Regions from separate parts of the Homo sapiens genome. Here region 2 is linked to region 1. The links are contacts of gene promoters, found by promoter capture Hi-C in human tissues and cell types (Jung and others, 2019). All regions are on one chromosome and are shown on one strand. Each heading gives the region's core, a stretch centred on a gene start or on the middle of the fragment in contact. The rest is flanking DNA. Distances are from core to core; before and after follow the strand shown.

Region 1 (5,002 bases), core at 1,852-4,351:
GGGGCCAAGTTTCACTCCTGATGCTCCCACGTATCAGTTGTGTGATATTGGAAAAGTGACTTTTTGGAGCCTGTTTCCTGGTCTATAAAATGGAGATTTTGGGGCCAGGCACAGTGGCTCACGGTGGCTCCCAGCACTTTGGGAGGCTGAGGCAGGTGGATCACTTGAGGTCACGAGTTCAAGACCATGGGGGAATGAATTAAAAGGACTAACCATGTAACAATTGTTAAAGCTGGCCAATGTATATGGAGGCTTTTTTTTTTTTTTTGGTGAGACAGAGTCTCACTCTGTCACCAGGCTGTAGTGCAGGGGTGCAATCTCAGCTCACTGCAATGTCTGCCTCCTGGGTTCAAGCAATTGTCCTTCCTCAGCCACCCGAGTAGCTGGGATTACAGGCATGTGCCACCACACCCAGCTAATTTTTGTATTTTTAATAGAGACAGAGTTTCACCATGTTGGCCAGGATGGTCTCGATCTCTTGACCTTGTGATCCGCCTGCCTCAGCCTCCTAAAGTGCTGGGATTACAGGCGTGAGCCACCGTGCCCTGCCAAGGCTCATTTTTTTTTTTTTTTAAGAGAAAGCAAGTTTATTAGAGAAGTAAAGAAACAGCCGGGCACGGTGGCTCACACCTGTAATCCCAGCACTTTGGGAGGGCGAGGCGGGCAGATCATGAGGTCAGGAGATCAAGACCATCCTGGCCAACATGGTGAAACCCTGTCTCTACTAAAATACAAAAAAAAATAAAAAATTACCCGAGCGTGGTGGTGCGCGCCTGTAGTCCCAGCTACTCGGGAGGCTGAGGCAGAGGAATCGCTTGAACCTAGGAGGCGGAGGTTGCAGTGAGCCTAGATTGCACCACTGCACTCCAGCCTGGCGACAGAGTAAGACTCCATCTCAAAAAAAAAAAAGAAAGAAACAAAAGAATGCACATGGAGGCTCATTTTCTCTAATTTTGCATGTCTTTAAACATAAAAAATTTTTAAATTATCCTGGAAAATGTCAGGGAAAAATGATATTGAGTATCTATGAATTCATGACGCGTATGGACAGGGAATTCCACGTGCAGGCAGCCATATTGGTGTTCCTCAACACATGTGAGTTTTGCAGGACCAGACAAAAGCAAACTCACAGGGGGCCCGATGGAGTAGTGCTGAGGTGGAAAATACAGACTCTTCAGTCTGGAAACCTGCAGCTGAGCCAGAGCAGCAGGAGGAAAAGGCAGGCAAAGACATCTTCATCGAGTCCTGCAGCATTGGAAGGAGTTCAGCCCCTAGGTCTTCTGCTCAGGAAGTTTAGGACCCACAGAAGGGCAAGGCTACTTCTGATTGATGTCACCATGACCCTGGTCTGCAAAGTTGAGGACTAAACTCTGACTGTTTTCTTCTTTTGCCCAAATTACTATCTAAGGGGCCTGGAGAGTCACCCCCTTCAAACCATAAAGCCTCATCAGACAGGTTTTATTTAACTTTATATAACCTGGCTGACTTTTCAACCAGGCTCTGGCATAACATCACATGGCAGATAAAGAAGGAAACGAAAATATTTCCACCCCAAATATGTTTTTTTGCCATATCTTGAAATAACCCTACCAAGCTGTCTTCTCGTGGGGAAAATCTACACTTGGTAGAGAATCCCCTTCCCTTTCCAGGCCTTTTTCCTGATCCAGGAGAGAATCAACTGGGCGTCTGGCACTTTTTAAAGTCTGATAAGAAATATTTGCAGTCTGTTCTTTCTGAAGCCGGCTGCCTGGAGGCTCCATCTGCATAATGGGAACCCTGGTCTCCACAACCCCTTAGTTCAGCGGTCCCCAACCTTTTTTGGCACCAGGAACCAGTTTTGTGGAAGACAGTTTTTTCCATGGATGGCAGGAGGGGGATGGATGGTTTCGTGGTTTCAGGATGATTCAAGCACATTACATTTATTGTGTACTTTATTTCTATTATTATTACATTGTAATATATCATGAAATAATTGTACAACTCATCATAACATAGAATTAGTGGGAGCCCTGAGTTTGTTTTCCTGTAATTAGAGGGTTCCATTGGGGAATTATGGGAGACAGCGACAGATCATCAGGTATTAGATTCTCATAAAGAGTGCACAACCTAGATCCCTCGCATGCACTGTCCACAATAGGGTTTGTGCTCCTGTAAGAATCTAATGCTATGGCTGATCTGACAGGAGGCGGAGCTCAGGCAGTAATTAGAGCAATGGGGAGTGGCTGTAGATACAGGTGAAGCTTTGCTCCTGCAGCTCACCTCCTGCAGTAACGGCCCAGTTCCTAACAGGCCATGGACTGGTATCTGTCTGTGCCCCAAGGGTTGGGGACCCCTGCCTTAGTCATCCCAGACATTCCTTTCTATTGATTATAGGTCTTTAGACAATAACTTTCAGCCAGTTGCCCATTAGAAGATCCTTGAGTTCACCTATGACTTGGAACATCCCCGCTTGGAATTGTCCTGCCTTTCCCACAGAACCAATGTTCATCTTACATGTCTTGATTGGTGTCTTATGTCTCCCTAAATTGTATAAACCCAAGCTGTAGCCCGACCATCATAGGTACATGTTCTTAGGACCTCTTGAGACTGTACCTTGGGCCATTGGTCACTCATATTTGTCTCAAAATAAATGTCTTCAAATATTTTACAGTTTGATTGTTTTCATCAACGAAGTATTAACTCAATCTCTGGCTTCACGGGCCAAGCACAGCGTTCCATGTCCATAAACCTGGACCGAGGAGCTGGGCCCAAGGGTATCCAGTGACCTCGATCCAGGTTTATGGACAAGGAACCCTGTGCTTATCCCAAGGGTACTCAGGGACCTTGGGCTCTGAAGTCCACGAGGGTGACCGAGGTGGCTGCCTCAGCCCATGCCCTCCCTGCCCCAGGGCGTCGGGGTTGGGTGAGAGAACCGCCGCAGCCTTCATCTGGTCTGACCGTCTTCGGTAAAAACAGAAAGAGTCCCTGGCTTTTCATTTTCGGGGTGGACTCAACTCCTCCCTGATGTCCCAAGGGCCAGAGACACAGAGAGGACCTCCCGAATTTCTAGAGGGGCCGCTACGGCCCCGCACTACTTTTCCGCGGGGGCGGGGCTATGACGCACTTCCGGGTGCGCGGTCCCGAGGTACGCGGTGCGGTCTCCCGGTACCCGGAGCGGCTCTGATTCATGGTGAGCCTGCTGGTCGCGGGTTAGCGAGGCGGACAGGAGAGGGAGCCGTGGCTGAATGGTCTGGGGAGGGAGGAGTGGGTTTAGCAGCTGTGGCTTCCGAGGACCCCACCTAGACCGGTCCTAGCAGGGCTGTGGGGAGGAGCTCCTCGTCCCCGCCCAGGACCAGCTGGTGGGGGCGCTGGCTGCCTGGAAAGCCTTTTCTTCCACTTGGGGCTTTAACAAATGAAAGCTGGAAGAACAGATGTTTTGGAAGTTCTTTCGCGTTCCAGAATAGTTTTTTTTGTGCGTTCCCCAAGCCAAGCCGTCTATCAGTCTGACCGTGGCCGCCTTTTTTCCCTTTCTCTGAACTGGAGGTCCGAACGCAAGGCTCATTGATGGCAATACGCCCAAGGTGTTGGAAACCTGTGGGAAGCCGAACCTCATTAGAAGTGTTGGGTAGAATCAAATCCAAGGGAAGAAATAGTCCCCTCGGGCTTTGTTCGGGCTAGAACACACACACAGAATAGGGATCTGCTCATGGTTTAGAAAAACAGTCTTAAAGAACCATGTATAAATAAAAGAGTGTCAGGACAAAGTTGATTTGGGCCAGGCGCGGTGGCTCACGCCTGTAATCCCAGCAGTTCGGGAGGCCGAGGCCGGCGGATCACTTGAGGTCAGGAGTTCGAGACCAGCCTGGCCAAACCCTGTCCCCACGAAAAATACAAAAATTAGCTGGGTGTGGTGGAGCGCGCCTGTAATCCCAGCTACTCAGGAGGCTGAGGCAGGAGAATCGCTTGAACCCACCAGGTGGAGGTTGCACTGAACCGAGATCACGCCACTGCACTCCAGCCTGGGCGACAGAGCAACACTTGGTCTCACAAAAAAAAAGAACGTTGATTTGATGGGTGAGGTACTTGGAAACCCACGAAATCTAAGGAACAGTTGAGCTGTGGAGAGGAAAAGAATTAAGAGGCAAGATAATTGTTTTCAAGTGTTGGAAGGCTGCTATGGAGAAAGTGAGTATTGGTCTTGGACTAACCTAGGATTTTTGAAATGATGCGGAATTTGATTCAGGTTAAAGAATTTGTGTGGCCGGGCGCGGTGGCTCATGCCTGTAATCCAGCACTTTGGGAGGCCGAGGCGAGTGCATCACCTGAGGTCGGGAGTTCGAGACCAGCCTGACCAACATGGAGAAACCCCGTCTCTACTACAAATACAAAATTAGGCGGGCGTGGTGGCACATGCCTGTAAGGAGGCTGAGGCAGGAGAATCGCTTGAACCTGGGAGGCAGAGGTTGCGGTGAGCCGAGATCGCGCCATTGCACTCCAGCCTGGGAAACAAGAGTGAAACTACGTCTCAAAAAAAAAAAAAAAAAAAAAAAAAGGAAGAACTTGTAACAATTAGTGGAATTCTGTGGCTCAAGAATTATCTAATTTGGCTGCCTAGGGATCTAGGGATTTTCTTTTTTTTTTTTTTTTTTTTTTTTTTTTTGAGATGGAGTCTCGCTCTGTCGCCTAGGTTGGAATGCAGTGGCGCGATCTCGGCTCACTGCAAGCTCCGCCTCCCGGGTTCTAGCCATTCTCCTGCCTCAGCCTCCCAAGTAGCTGGGACTACAGGCGCCCGCCACAACGCCTGGCTAATTTTTTGTATTTTTTAGTAGAGACGGGGTTTCACCGTGTTAGCCAGAATGGTCTCGATCTCCTGACCTCGTGATCTGCCCGCCTCGGGCCTCCCAAAGTGCTGGAATTACAGGTGTGAGCCACGGCGCCGGGCCCCCTAGGGATTTTCAGGTACGGACTGAGTGTGAAGCATTTTAGCACAAGTGGGTAAGTGCTGTTCTACTTTTAGAATCTA
Region 2 (4,953 bases), core at 358-2,857, 480 kb before region 1:
AAAGAATGTGAAAAGTCTTTCAGTCAGAGCTCAAGTCTTAGTCGACATAAAAGAATACACACTAGAGAAAAACCTTACAAATGTGAAGCATCTGATAAATCCTGTGAAGCGTCTGATAAATCCTGTAGTCCAAGCTCAGGCATAATTCAGCATAAGAAAATTCACACCAGAGCCAAATCTTACAAATGTAGCAGTTGTGAAAGAGTCTTCAGTCGTAGTGTCCACCTTACTCAACATCAGAAAATTCACAAAGAGATGCCCTGTAAGTGTACTGTATGTGGCAGTGACTTCTGCCATACTTCATACCTACTTGAACATCAGAGGGTCCATCATGAAGAGAAAGCCTATGAGTATGATGAATATGGGTTGGCCTATATTAAACAACAAGGAATTCATTTCAGAGAAAAGCCCTATACGTGTAGTGAATGTGGAAAAGACTTCAGATTGAATTCACATCTTATTCAGCATCAAAGAATTCACACAGGAGAGAAAGCACATGAATGTAATGAATGTGGAAAAGCTTTCAGTCAAACCTCATGCCTTATTCAGCATCACAAAATGCATAGGAAAGAGAAATCGTATGAATGTAATGAGTATGAGGGCAGTTTCAGTCATAGCTCAGATCTTATCCTGCAACAAGAAGTCCTCACCAGACAGAAAGCCTTTGATTGTGATGTATGGGAAAAGAACTCCAGTCAGAGAGCACATCTAGTTCAACATCAGAGCATTCATACCAAAGAGAACTCATGAATGTAATGAAGATGGGAAGATATTTATCAAATTCAGGCTTCATTCAGCATCTGAGAGTTCACACCAGGGAGAAATCATGTATGTACTGCATGTGGTAAAGCCTTCAGTCATAGCTCAGCCATTGCTCAGCATCAGATAATTCACACCAGAGAGAAACCCTCTGAATGTGACGAATGAAGAAAAGGTATTAGTGTTAAACTCTTAATCGACTCCTGCAAATCTATACCAGTGAGAAATCTTACAAATGTATTGAATGTGGCAAATTTTTCATGCTATTAGTATTTTCATACCTTAGTCACATTTGGAGAATTCACATGGGAATAAAATTCCATTGCTGCAATGAATGTGAAAAAGCCATCAGTCAAAGAAACTACCTTGTTTAGTATCAAATTCACGCCATGCAAAAAGATTATAAATGTAATAAGCATGTATGTGTGTGAGGAGATTCAGTCATAACCCAACGCTCATTCAACATCAAAGAATTTATACCTAAGAGAACTTATTTGGGTGTAGTAAATGGCAGATCTTTCAATAGGAGTTTAACTAGTCTTTGTCATATCAGAATATCCATAGTAGACAAGAATTTGATGTAACGCAAATGGAAAAACTCGACACCACATTTCAGGCTTTACCCAACATCGAAATAATGGAGAGAAAATTGTTGATTATTTGTTTATGAAATTGTTAATACATAGTCCCAATCTTTTTCATTGCACAAAAATCTAGGGTTGACTTGGTAAATGCAGTGACATTTTCTCATGGAGTTCCTTTATTTAATATGTATTCTAAGTAGGTACGTTTATTTTTACTTTTTTATTATAATTTTGATATTAAAAAGAACAGAGATGGGGTCTTGCTTTGTTGCCCAGGCTGGTCTTGAACTCCTGGCCTCAAGCGATCCTCCCACCTGTCCTCCCAAAGTGCTGGGGTTACAGGCGTGTGTCACTGTGCTGGGCCTATTTTATTTATAGAACTCATTTAAGCTGTTTTTATTTTAATATGCCCTATAAACATTTTTATATTTTTTGAAATTGGTTCTTAGTGTTCACAACTTCCATAAGATACTGCTAATGCACCAGTATTAAAACACATCGACGTAAGTAGCTCATTTAGCTTTTTCTGCTGTTCTTGGCCCAAGTTCTTTCCAAAACCAACTCTTAGGCCTGCTCTTTACTAGGGATCTTATGTCGTATTGCTTTACAGCCACAACACTTGGATTCCTGTTGATTAACTTCTCCATTCTCTTAAGCACCTTTAGAAGATTTAGAAGTTTCCTAGTTTTAAGTGTTTCACCAGCAAGTATTCCATACCTACTTGATGTTGCTGGTCTGGTGTCTTATTTCCTAAAGTGAAGCATCTTTTTTTAAAAAAGAATTTGATTGACAATATATCCAGTCCAATATAAGTATGAAGGATTCTCTCTCCTGAGATTGTAGCAGGCAGCCAAACATTTTCAAATGATGCCCAAGGTTTTAGCTGTCTTGTGTGCATCCACAGTCTGCGAAGAAGACATGATAAGGACATCAGGGAGCCAACAAGACTCCTAATAGCCTCACTACATTCATCCAGTGCCTATTCTGCATGCCTAAGCTTAGAGTTCTTTTATATACCTCTACGGCCAGCAAAATGCTCAGGTCTGCTCTTGGTAGGGTAAACATAAAGAAGATACACAGGCCGGGCATGGTGGCTCACACCTGTAATCCCAGCACTTTGGGAGGCTGAGGCGGATGGATCACGAGGTCAGGCAGTCGAGACCATCCTGGCCAACATGGTGAAACCCCGTCTCTACTAAAAATACAAAAGTTAGCCGGGTGTGGTGGCACGCGCCTGTAATCCCAGCTACTCAGGAGGCTGAGGCAGGAGAACTGCTTGAACCTGGGAGGCGGAGGTTGCAGTGAGCCGAGATTGCACCACTGCACTCCAGCCTGGGCGACAGAGCAGGACTCTCTCTCAAAAAAACACAAAAAAACAAAAACAAAAAACCATACACACACACACACACACACAAATCAGCATCATAAGGGAATGTAGCCTTCCAACAGAGATGATGCTGTTCGTATGTTAATCTCAGAGACAGTATTTCAAGAGAGTGGCAGGTCTGTTCCTGGTAAAATTTTAACCATTAGGATTGCAGATAAATGTTTGAATTCTGCTCCTCTCTCATCAATCCAGGACAGTATTTGAAGTGTGAGGGCTTTGTGTATAGTTGTTTATCCATTACCACATTTTTGTATTTTAATAGTCTACAGGCTATATAAAAGAACATGGCTTTTTGACTGATAAAAGTGATTACAGATGTTGGCTCAAGTTCAGGGCCACCATCATATACCTAACAAGAGTTCATGATTCTTTAGGTAATGTCAAAACATTTTGTATTTTTCCATCTTAAGCTTTATAACATTTTGTGAGTAAGACAAATGTTATTTAAAATTCTTGTTGTCAGTCCAGCAATTGAGGCTTTCATAGTTCAGTGTTATAATATTCAGTAGGGACCCTCAACAAATATATAAAAATATGTTGCTCACTCTATAATCCTCCTATGGCTAACCTCTAGGATAGTTCTGCCACTATATTTTACTTCTTTGCCATCAGCAAGAGTAGGATTTCATCAAGGCAAGGTAGGAATCTAAATGAAATTGATATATAAATGAATTGATCTAAATGTAAAAGCAAATGAAAAATGCATGTGTTTTTTCCTGTCAAACATGTATACCCTTATGTATAGAGACCAGTAGTCACGTATGGTGACTGAAACAGGATTATGTAATCCCTAAAAAGCAGAATATGTAAAAATCACATGTATGCGTTTGGTTTAGGAATGTGCTTTTGTACTTCCACTTGAATAAAGGTGTGTTTGGTATTCTGAGAATTTGTTTCAAACAAAATCTGAAGGTCTCAGACAGAAGCGTTTGGGAATGTTGGAATCACATCTCTGGCTGCAACTCCTTTCCTCCCTGGAACTTGCTTCACAGCAAGAATGGATCACTTTCCTTTGCATTGATAACAAAGCTTGCTTTTCCACAGACCTCTGGAACAAAAGCTGAATGTTTGGGACTTAAAGGGGATTTGATTGGGAAGTTGTTGGTATATAAAATAAGACTAAATAGTTCGAGGTTTCAGTAGAACTAGGAATAACTTTTTGTTTGTTTGTTTGTTTTTTGAGACAGTCTCGTTCTGTCACCCAGGCTGGAGTGCAGTAGCGTGATCTCGGCTCACTGCAACCTCCGCCTCCTGGGTTCAAACGATTGTCTTGTGTCAGCCTCCCAAGTAGCTGGGATTACAGGCACCTGCCACCTTGCCTGGCTGATTTTTGTATTTTTAGTAGAGACCGGGTTTCACTGTGTTGGCCAGGCTGGTCTCAAACTCCTGACCTCAGGTAATCTGCCTGCCTCAGCCTCCCAAAGTGCTGGGATTACAGGCGTGAGCCGCTGTGCCCAGCCATATTTTTTAAATAAGTAAAACACTTTAAAAAAGGCGGACTCAAAATAGTCCTTTAGGGCAATCCTTTAAGCAGATATTTAATTGGCCTGATACATGAGTTTGTGTTCTGAGTCATTTTGGTCTTGAAAGGGGAGAGAAGAGAAATACGATAGTAGAGGGCACTTTTATCTTCTGTCTTTCCACCTACCTACACACACGTATGTTTGTACATATCTAAACTTTATTCTCAATTCTGCAAAGCAGCTAGCTTCATTTTACAAAGGAATATTTTAGTAAACATACCCCAGGCCAGGTGCAGTGGCTCACGCCTGTAATCTCAACACTTTGGGAGGCTGAGGCGGGCAGATCACTTGAGGTCAGGAGTTGGAGACCAGCCTGGCCAATGTGGCGAAACCCAGTCTCTACTTAAAATAGAAAAATTAGCCAGGCATGGTGTTGCGTGCCTATAATTCCAGCTACCTGGGAGGCTGAGGCGCAACAATAGCTTGAGCCTGGGAGGCAGAGGTTGCAATGAGCCGAGATTGTGCCACTGCACTCCGGAGTGAGACTCTGTCTCAAGAAAACACAAAAAAACAAAAAACAACAATATACCCCAAAGTGATGTTGGTATTACACAGATCTCAAAACCCAGAGAAGTTTGATAGCTCTTCATTCCCTAGTACATCGCTGATGACTCACTGTCATTAGTTTGCAACTGATCTCAAGTGCTCCGAGAGCTCTCTGGGATACTAGGAGAGAATATCCTGAGATTTTTTTAGGGAG

The links. The method cuts DNA at HindIII sites, captures the fragments that hold promoters and counts their contacts. A contact is called where the count stands out against the background at its distance.
Region 2: a contact is called between a fragment that was not itself captured here and the fragment with the promoter of ZSCAN21 in region 1, in 2 of the 25 tissues and cell types used here (dorsolateral prefrontal cortex and hippocampus).

What each region holds. Positions count from the first base shown.
Region 1 is chr7:100,046,673-100,051,674 of GRCh38, forward strand. ZSCAN21 (zinc finger and SCAN domain containing 21) reads left to right here and starts at 3,102. Exons shown (of 4, transcript NM_145914.3): 1 at 3,102-3,169. RefSeq lists an enhancer at 3,004-3,623. The HindIII fragment of the contact is 16,971 bases long and covers 1-5,002 here.
Region 2 is chr7:99,572,835-99,577,787 of GRCh38, forward strand. ZNF655 (zinc finger protein 655) reads left to right here. Exons shown (of 3, transcript NM_138494.3): 3 at 1-3,619. The coding sequence ends at 750. Among named protein-coding and RNA genes, the nearest start is that of ZNF655, 17 kb to the left of the region's middle. The HindIII fragment of the contact is 3,683 bases long and covers 1-3,449 here.